Linked DNA regions of Homo sapiens: region 2 is linked to region 1. Evidence: promoter capture Hi-C in 16 types of primary human blood cells and fetal thymus (Javierre and others, 2016). All regions are on one chromosome and are shown on one strand. Each heading gives the region's core, a stretch centred on a gene start or on the middle of the fragment in contact. The rest is flanking DNA. Distances are from core to core; before and after follow the strand shown. Region 1 holds the start of NECAB2 (N-terminal EF-hand calcium binding protein 2). Region 2 overlaps ATP2C2 (ATPase secretory pathway Ca2+ transporting 2).

Region 1 (4,988 bases), core at 660-3,159:
CCTGACTGGGCAGGGCTTCCATGCAGGGCAGCTTGGGGCTGCAGGGCTCTGCCCAGGACTTTCAGTGGGAGCTCTGCGGGGGTCCTGAGGAGGGGATGGTTTGGCTGCATGGGTGTGTCTCTGGCTGTGTGTGCGTGCGTAAGCGAGTGCGTGAGTGTGTGAATGTGTGCCTGCGAGTGTGGCACTCTAGAGCTCCCCCTGCTCTGGCCGGCCCTCCCAGCCCAGACCCCGGCCAAGGGTTCCAGGAGCAGGGAAGAGGAGAGAGGAAGGGAGGGAATCCCCCGACTCACAGGGATCCGCGATACACGCGTGTGCACATTCACACACACCCACCACTCTCCCAGAAATCCACCACACAGGCAGAGGCAGCCCCCAGCCCCACCCCAGCAGGACCCTCGCTGAAACACGCAGTCAACATCCCCAGAAGCCTCCTCCACCTCCTCCTAGCACTCTCTGCTGGGAGAAGTCCTCCTCCTCCGAGCCGCCCCCTGAAGATTCCTCCCTCCCGGGTGGGGCGGGTGGGAGGGTGAGGTGGGCTTCCCAGAGATGGGTGATTTGGGTCCCAGGGGAGTTAGGAGGGGTGAGGGGTGAGTCTGGTCCATGAAGAGGACCCAGCTCTCTGTAGGGTAGAGGGGTGTGGGGAAGGGAACAGAGGACTTGGAATGGAAGGGGGCGGGGTGGGGAAGACCAGAGGGGTACCAGCTCAGGGCTGATGGGCGATGGCTCTGGCTCAATGGAAAGGAGACGAGAAGACAGAAGGTGGGGAGGGGGCTTCACTTTTAAAGTGGCAGTAGCTGGGGCAAAGGGTCTTTGAGCGTGAGATGAACGGGGGCTCAGGGTCTAGGGCGAAGAGAGGTGGGCTAGAGGTAGGGGTTGTTAGGGGTCTCAGAAAAGTATCGCTCCGGACAGGATCCGGGATGGAGAGGAGGAGGCGGCTGGACGCGGCGAGGGGCTCCGGTCCCGCGGGGTAAAGGGTGGGGGTTTGGCTTGGACAAAACTAGGGGGACAGTGGCCGGGTCCGGGGGCTCACGGCTCCCCACTGTGGGCAGGCAGGGACTCCGAGAAGCGCCGGTGGAGGGGCGGAGGAGGGGGGTCTCCCGGTCCAGGGAGAGGACTGGGCTGGAGACCGGCCTGGACGTGGCGGGGCTGGGGGCTCCCGCTCCGGCACGCGGAGGGGCCGGGGGTCTCCTGCCCGGGTAGGGAGGGCCTCGCGGGTCGCGGCGTCGGGGTCCGCCCGAGGGGCGGAGGGGGCTCCGGGTCCCAGCGGAGGCCACGGCGGGGGTCCCGGCCGGCGCGTACTCACGTCCAGGATGACGGCGGTGCCCCCGCGCGGCGAGGCTGGGCCGGGGTCCGCGGGGGCGGCGGGGGCCAGCGACTCCCGGGGCTCGCCCATCCTGGCGCCCACCCAGCGCAGCAGCCCGCCCAGCGCCCGGCCCTGCTGCGGCGGCTCCCGGAGCAGCCTGTGCGCGCCGGCCCTGCACAGGCGCGCCGCCCGCTCGCACATCGCGCCGCGCCCGCCGCCGCCGCCCGGAAGCCCGCCGACCCCCGCCCAGCTGCGGCCCGCCCCCGCGCGACCCCCTCCCCGCGCTGCCCGCGCCGCCCCGCCCTCTCTCCCGCTGCCCCCGCGGCCGCGGACACCGCGGGGACTGGCCGGCGCCGGGGGGCGGGCCGGCCGGACCCCGAGCCACGTGCCCGCTCCCCGCCGCCCCCACCCCCGCCGGCCGGGCGCGGGGCCTGAGGACTGCCCGCCGGGGCGAGGGGCGCGGGCGCAGCCACAGAGGGGGCTACCCGGAGGGGAGGGGTATGTGGGGCCTGGGGGCGGGGCGGCGCCCCTGGGGCCTGCTCCCCAAAAGTCTCCTGCTCTCCCCGCTTCTAAAGTCCCCCCTCCCACTCGCGGCGCGCAGCAGAGGCCGAAGCGCGGGTGTCCAGCGAGCCCGGAGCGCCCTCTGCCGGCTCCAGCCCCGGGGAGCGGCGCCCACGCCCCGCGGCCCCGTCACGCCCGCGGGCGCCCATCCTTAACTCCCGCGGGCGTGCACGCCCCCTCAGGCCGCCCCCTTGGTTACAAAACGCCCAGAACCAGTCTTCACCCCAGAACATCTTTCCTTCATACTCCATCCACCCATCCATCTATCCACCCACCCACCTGTCCGTCCATCCATCCATCCATCCATCCACCTGCCTACCCGTCCATCAATCCATCTATACATCCATCCACCCATCCTCCCATCCATCCATCCGGCCGGCCGACTGTCCGTCCATCCATCCACCCACCCTCCCAACCATTCATCCATCCATCCATCCACCCACCCAGCATCCTCCCATCCATCCATCCATTCACCCACCCACTCATCCTCCCTCCCTGGCATCCATCCATCCACCCTCCATCCATCCATCCATCCACCCTCCCATCCATCCATCCATCCATCCATCCATCCATCCATCCATCCGTCCATCCATCTGCCCGCCCGCCCATCTGTCTGTCCATCCACCCACCCACCCTCCCATCTATCCATCTATCCACCCCCCTACCCTCTCATCCATCCATCCATCCACCCACCTACACACCCTCCCATCCATCCACCCACCATCCTTCCATCCATCCATCTATCCTCCCTCCCTCCCATCCATCCATCCATCCTCCCTCCCATCCATCCACCCACCCACCCACCCCCCTCCCTCCCATCCATCCATCCATCCATCCACCCACCCACCATCCTCCCATCCATCCAACCATCCTCTCATCTATCCATCTGTCCACCCACCCACCCATCCTCCCATCCATCCATCCACCCATCCATTTAAAAGATGAATTAAGGAGAACCCACTAGGTGCCAGGCAGGTGCCCAACCACGGAGTTCCAGCAATGGGCAAAACAGATGGTGTACTTGGTCTCCCAGAGCTCCTGGAGCTTACATCCAAGTGGGCAGAGCCAAACACTGAAATGATTCCACAAACAAATGAACAATTAAAACTGAACTGCTGGAAGGGTGTGGTGGCTCATGCCTGTGATACCAACACTTTGGGGAGCCAAAGAGGGCGGATCACTTGAGGTCAGGAGTTCAAGACCAGCCTGGCCAACATGGTGAAACCCCGTCTCTATTAAAAATACAATAACTAGCTGGGCGAGGTGGCAGTCACCTGTAATCCCAGCTACTTGGGAGGCTGAGACAGGAGAATCATTTCAACCCAGAAGCAGAGGTTGTAGTGAACCAAGCGCCACAGCACTCCAGCCTGGGTGACAAAATGAGACTCTGTCTCAAAAAAAAGAAAAAAAAACTGCACTGCTATGAAAAGGTAGCACCTTAGACCATGAAAGGAGTATTTGCTGTGACGGCAGTGGAGGGGTTTGTGTCAGAAGAGGCTTCCTAGAGGAAGTGATTCTTATGCTGAGACATCCCAAGGAAAAGGAGTTAAAGAAAGGCGGGAAACTGTCCTGGGCTGGGGACTCTCTGTGCAAAGGCCTTGGGGCAGGCAGAGACCTGGCCAGCAGGAGGGACTGAAAGGAGGCCGCATGGCAGAACAGAGAGGAGGGAGGCCTGGGACAGGCTGCGGAGGGGGCGGGGCTGCAGCGCCCTCCTGGACATCACTGCCTGCACACACCCGCCACTCCCACCCCCAGACTCTAGTACAGCTGCCCGCTCAACTGCCCCCACACTTGGGGCACCATCCTTTGTACCCCAAGGCCCCAGCCATGGACCTCATCCAGGACCACATGCCCCAGGACTCCTCCCACAATCCCCTTTCCTCCCTTCCCCCCAGCCCAGTGCAGGGTTCCGGGAACGCAGCTCCCTCCGAGCACAGAGTCCTCAGACGCATGAGAGCAGGTGGGCACTGGCTTTATTTGGGACCTGCTTCTGGAAGGCGCAGGGCTGCAGGTCTCCTGGCTGGGTGCTCAGCTGGTCACACCAGCAGCTTTCCCCACAAATCCCAGGTCTAGGCCAACCCTGGCCTGCGGCCGCTGTTACCACCTCAGACACTGGTCTAAGTCCAGGGCAGCCTGGGATCCCTACTCCTCTTGACCCCAAAGGCCAGCAACGTGGGCTGACACCCCTCCCCGGGGCATCTTTGGACGGGTCCTGCATCCAGCAGGGATGTGGTCATCTCTGTCCTCTCAGGGCCTGGGAGCCAGCGGGTCTGGCCGAGTGTTAGGGTGGCTTCCTGGTCTCCTTCCTTAGCAGGGAGCTGGCCACAGCCAAGGCGCCCCCCTGCACAAACCTCACGAAGTTGTCCCCGGCCAGCGGCCCCATGGCGTACAGGCCCTCCTGGCGGGTGCTCTGGTAGGTGAAGGGGTCCACGTCAATGGGGTTCCTCTTGGCGCTCAGCGGCTGGTCAGGATCCACTGCAAAGTCAGCCCCTGCCCCAGGCAGGAAGGAGAGGTCGGGGTGGGAGCCGATGAGGACCAGCACCAGGGAGACCCCAAACACCTTCTCGACACCCTCGAGGTCCTGGAACACGGCCTGGCAGTCTTCCTTGAAGCACAGCAGCTGGTGCCTGGGGAGGCTGCGGTAACCCTCATAGGGGCTGGGCGACAGGATGGACTGCTCCCGCATCATCTGGTGCACCTTGTGGTACTCGGGGTACAGCATCTTGGGCAGCTGGTTGAACACCAGGCCAGGGTCGTCCACGGCCCGGCGGAAGGCATGGATCACCGGGATGTTGTAGTGGCGGGCGTAGAGGACCGCGTCGGCCGCTGACAGCCCCGCGCCAATGATGAGGACAGGGTCTGAGGCCGGGGTCACCGCACCCACCCTTGTGGCGGCCTCCAGGGCAGACAGCTCATGGTGGATGAAGGGCAGGGCCTCCCCGGGGATGCCCAGCCGGGCCGGGCTGTCGAACGTGCCTGTGGCGAGGACCACGTTGCGGGCCCACAGCGAGAAGGGCTGCTGGGCCTGGTTCCTGGTCAGGAAGCCGCTCACCTGGAAGAGGGGGCTGGAGTCCTGGGCCCCACAGCTGCTGGGATCGGGGGTCCCCCACTCCACGGCTGTGAC
Region 2 (4,988 bases), core at 60-2,559, 480 kb before region 1:
TTGCCGTCAGCATGCTGCCTGACTCCTTGGGACGGGTGACCTCCTTGACTAGGGACCCTGCTTGAATGCACTTAAAAGTCAATGTTACATGCAAGCTTAAAGCTCTGGGCCGGGACCACAGGCACTGACCCCGCAAACCGAGCGACCCCATCCTCTTCTCTTCCTGCAGGCAGAATGACCTCTGCTGGGGCGTCAGCGGCAGGGGGATGCCCCCGTTGTTGTACATGGTGCAGTAGCGGATCACCTCTTCCAAGGCCCCTTTCATGAAGTAAATGTCTTCCTGATCCTTAGAAAAGACAAAGGGAAGAAATCCACTATCACTGGAAGCCTTGGTTCATACTGACCATCACCCCACTCTGCACAAGGTTACAAAGACACACACGGGGATCTTTGCAGCGGAGTTATTTATCATAGGCTGGTGCTGTTCACAGGTGCTGGACAGGTTCGCGAAGTTCTAGAATCCATCCATGGAACGTTTTGCAGTCCAGAGAAAGAACAAGGCCAATCTTCAACCTGTACTACCCTTGTTCTTTTTTCAGTTCCCTTGTTATGGTCACTCAGAGCGTCTTGTATGTTTCATGCACGGGAGGTATCATCCCAGCTGGGACTGTGCCTTTGGGGGTGTGATTAACTGGGAATATTTCCATTAGACTGTTGCCTCCCTAGGGCAGCACCAAGTCTATTTTGTACCCACCCCCAGCACTTGGCTTGTAATAGTGAAGCCACATGAGTAGCTGATCATTTTTCCTGTGTTTTTCTTAAGCTCTGTCATGACAAACATGTAGACTATGAACTCCACGGGGGGAGGCCCTGGGTCAGTGAGAGTCACACTGTACCCCTAGCCTCAATACCGGACATACCTGGCTCACGTGGGTGCACAGTGTGAATGTAACACTGTTATAAGATAATATAATATTAATTATATATGTTATTAATATGTAATTAACATATTAATGTTATTAATAAATATAATATTAATTACAGATGTTAATACATTAATTATAGTACATATGTATTGTATATTATTTATATGTATTATATTACATTATATTATTTATATGTATATTATATATTATATATAACTAATATATTCTTATACAATTATAATATATATTACATAATATATATTAAATAATATATGTAATATATGTAATATATATTACATATTATATAATTAATATGTTAATATAACAAGCTTATATTAACCAACACAGACATCTAAGACATAATATTAAAAGAAAATCTTAGGGGGAAAAAGCAAATTACACACACTATAAATAGTGACCTTGTTTTGAAAATACCATCCAGATGTTGTCGTTTGCATATTTAAAATCTGCAATGCTCCATCCCAGACTTAAAATAGAATTACCTCTGGGTGGGTGGTGGGGAGGGAGGGAAGAAGGGTGGAATGAAAGAAGCTTTCATTTTTATGTCATATTTCTATACTTTTTCAATGAGAATATATTACCATTGCCTTGCAAGGGAAAAGATTTAAAGGTCTAAAAGTTTTTTGAAAATCTATAATCCCTTCTAAGCCCCTGAAATGTACATGTGTCCATCCATGCACAGGAAGGGCCTGGCATGAGCTGGCTGAGCTGCCCACAGCCCTGAGTGGGAGCTGAGCAGTCTGCGTGGGCAGACATGATAGATTCTAGAAAGAGTGGGAGGGAAGAGGAGGGGTGGAGAAAACGGTAGAAGGCAACAAAAACTTTAAAAAATAGCTTTTAAGGAAAATCTGAAAAGCCACAACAAATCTGAAAAGAAAATTTTAAAAATCAGCTGTAATGTCCACCCGGGGTGGCCATAGCTTGGTATGTGTTCCTCTAGCCAGGGACAACACGTGTGCACACGCTGATGCACCACACAGACACGCCTTCCGTACTGAAGGATTTGCTCCCCAGTATGACGGGGAGATGAGCTAAGAAGTATAAAAAACTTAGCACAGGGCTGCAAAGAGAGGACTGGCAAGTTGGCGACTGGTGTTAGCAGCAGGGCCTCAGTCACTGGATTACAGGCTGGTCGATCTCAACATTTGCACCTGCATCAGAATCTGCAGAAAATGAAGGTTACTGGGTCCCACCCCTGGACCCTTCGACTCAGGAGGTCTGGCATGGAACCTGAGATTCTGCATTTCTAATAAAGTCTCGCGTGGTAACAACCGCTGCTACTCCAGGGACCCTGCTTTAAGAACTTCTGTTTTAAACAAAAAGCCAGAAGCAGACCCAAGAGAATCAAAGGTATGATGGTGATTAAGTTTTTCCATGTATTTGGAACGTCACAGAAGCAGCCAGGAACTTTCAAATTATCCTTGAAGTCTGCATTTTGCTTTATCTCTGGGTGGGGGCCCGGGCAGAAAGAGAGAAGAGGTTGAAGATTGAAAGGTCTCACCTCAGTCTTCAGACTGCATTTCACCGCCATCCACTTCTGCTCTGAACTGAATGGAATCTCTTTTTTTCTTATATATGAATTTTTAATATCACTTAAGTCCATCTAGCATAATAAAATGACACATTTTTAGTGAGTCATCCGAAGCCAATCTCTATACAAAGCTCAGTCCATTTAAATTATTCATTGTTCAAACCACCTCTGGCAGATAAGAAATCCAAGCATTTAGCACATAGAAAAAAGGCCATTTCTCTTGGAATGTCCCACCTAGAAAAAAAAAAAAAAGTCTCTTCTCTTGGCTGAAGGGCAGACAAGACGGTCTTTGCAACAGCTTCTATCTGAAATCTGCTTAGAAACAAACCTGCAGTGTTTCTGCCGGGAGGAATGTTTCAGACTTGAAGGTGTAGCAATTTCTCAGACGGAACCCCCTGAGTCAGTGAGACAGCCCTGCGTCCAGAACATGGGGTCCTTGCCAGCCCCCCGTCCACAGCCTGGGGTCCTTGCCAGCCTGGCCCTTTGTTGCTCTTTGGTGGCTTTTGGATCAGTGATGTGACAACTCAGAATCTCAGTTTCCCCAGGTGTAAACCAGTCATGACCCATGCATCCCACTGTCCCACAGGGGGTGAAAATGCGGTGCAGCAGGGGCACAAAAAACTACTCCTTTTACGTAGAAAGTGCAGATATGCGTACAATACAGTGTATCTACCATATTAAATTTCATGGGGAGGGAGTGGGGTGATTAGGGAAGAAATGCCTAAACCATCTCCTTAGTGGGGTTGAATTGTACCCCACAAAAGATATGTTGAAGTCCTAACCTCGGAACCTCTGAATGTGACCTGATTTGGAATAGCGCCTTTGCAGATATCGTCAATTTGAGGCTATTAGGGTTGGCCCTAAGCCAACATGACTGGATATAAGAGGAGGAAGGCCGGGCATGGTGGCTCATGCCTGTAATCCCAGGACTTTGGGCAGCCGAGGCGGGTGGATCACGGGGTGAGGAGATCAAGACCATCCTGACTAACATGGTGAAACCCTGTCTCTACTAAAAATACAAAAAGTTAGCCAGGCGTGGTGGCAGGCGCCTGTAGTCCCAGCTACTTGGGAGGCTGAGGCAGGAGAATCGCTTGAACCTGGGAGGCGGAGGTTGCAGTGAGCGGAGATCAAGCCAGTGCACTCCAGCCTGGGCAACAGAGCGAGACTCCGTCTCAAAAAAAAAAAAAAAAGAGGAAAACGCTGCGCAGAGGCGTGGCGGGGAGCACCTCGTGACAGAGACAGAGCTTGGTGTGAGAGACCAAGGCAGGGATGCGTCTGCGAGTCAAGGAACGCCCGGGGCTGCCAGTAACACCCAGAAACTGGGAGACGGAGCCTGGCCCTGCTCACACCTTGATTTCAACTTCTGGCCACAGAGCTGTGTTTCAGTGTGTTTTGGTTACACTAAATCACCAGCCAGTGGTGTTTTATTTCAGTAACCCCAAGACCCTAATCCAGGAGCAATAATGGAAGAAAAGCCCGGGAACCACTGGCCTGGCCTCAGTGCCATTTAGAGCAGGTGAGACAGGTAAGAACCACAAAGTGCTTGCCCCATGCCTGTCACACAGGCAGCACTTCCTACATGCCAGCCAGTGTTTGTTCTGTATTCCAAAATCTTAAGCCAGGCCCCAGGAAAAAGGAAAATTATAACACATCAAGGAAATCTCTTCTGGGTGCTGGAACCTCTCTCCTCTCTAGGCTGCAGGGACGGCTGGTGGCGGAAGCAAGGTGACACATGGGTGTCATTCCTGCCAGGCGGTCAGGCCGGCACCTTCCCTTCTGGGCGGCGAGGAGTTGTTGAATGGGGCAGACTCAGCACTATTTTAAAACGGGAAATGAGCTCCATTCACTATTACAGACATTGCAGAGAGAATTCTCTTCTGTGAATGGAAGAAAAATAATACGATGTCATGATTTCTGTTTGTTTTTTTGAGACGGAGTCTTGCTCTGTCACCCAGGCTGGAGTGCAATGGTACGATCTCGGCTCACTGTAACCTCCGCCTCCTGGGTTCAAGCAATTCTCCTGCCTCAGCCTCCCGAGTAGCTGGGATTACAGGTGTGCACCACCATGCCCAGCTAATTTTTATATTTTTAGTAGAGATGAGGTTTCACCATGTTGGCCAGGCTGGTCTTGAACTCCTGACCTCAGGTGATCCACCTGCCTCGGTCTCCCAAAGTGTTGCGATTACAGGTGTGAGCCACTGTGCCCAATCTTTTTGTTTTTTTTTTTTTTTTTTTTTTGAGGCAGGATCTCTCTCATCTAGACTGGAGTGCAGTGGTGTGATCATAGCTCATTGCAGCCTCAGACTCCTGGGCTCAAGGGATCCTCCTGCCTCAGCCTCCTGAGTAGCTGGGACCACAGGCATGCACCACCATGCCCAGCTAATTTTTATATTTTTTGTAGAGATGGGTTTTCGCTATGTTGCCCAGGCTGGTCTCAAACTCTTGGCCTCAAATGATCCTCCCGCCTTAGCCTCTTAAAGTGCTGGGATTTGAGCCACTGCACTCAGCCTGTAATGACTTTCCAATGTTCTTACACTGGGGAAAAGCACCTGATCTACCAACACGGGGGC

Evidence for each region. Contacts are between HindIII fragments. The CHiCAGO score rates a contact against its expected background, and 5 or more counts as called.
Region 2: a contact is called between a fragment that was not itself captured here and the fragment with the promoter of NECAB2 in region 1, in 2 of 17 cell types (M2 macrophages and megakaryocytes). The highest score is 5.3, in M2 macrophages.

What each region holds. Positions count from the first base shown.
Region 1 is chr16:83,965,165-83,970,152 of GRCh38, reverse strand. NECAB2 (N-terminal EF-hand calcium binding protein 2) reads right to left here and starts at 1,909. Exons shown (of 13, transcript NM_019065.3): 1 at 1,304-1,909. The coding sequence starts at 1,504. OSGIN1 (oxidative stress induced growth inhibitor 1) reads right to left here. Exons shown (of 6, transcript NM_182981.3): 6 at 3,821-4,988. The coding sequence ends at 4,146. RefSeq lists a silencer at 1,844-2,033. The HindIII fragment of the contact is 14,372 bases long and covers 1-4,988 here.
Region 2 is chr16:84,443,831-84,448,818 of GRCh38, reverse strand. ATP2C2 (ATPase secretory pathway Ca2+ transporting 2) reads right to left here. Exons shown (of 27, transcript NM_014861.4): 16 at 2,389-2,490; 17 at 130-286. Among named protein-coding and RNA genes, the nearest start is that of ATP2C2-AS1, 21 kb to the left of the region's middle. The HindIII fragment of the contact is 223 bases long and covers 1,198-1,420 here.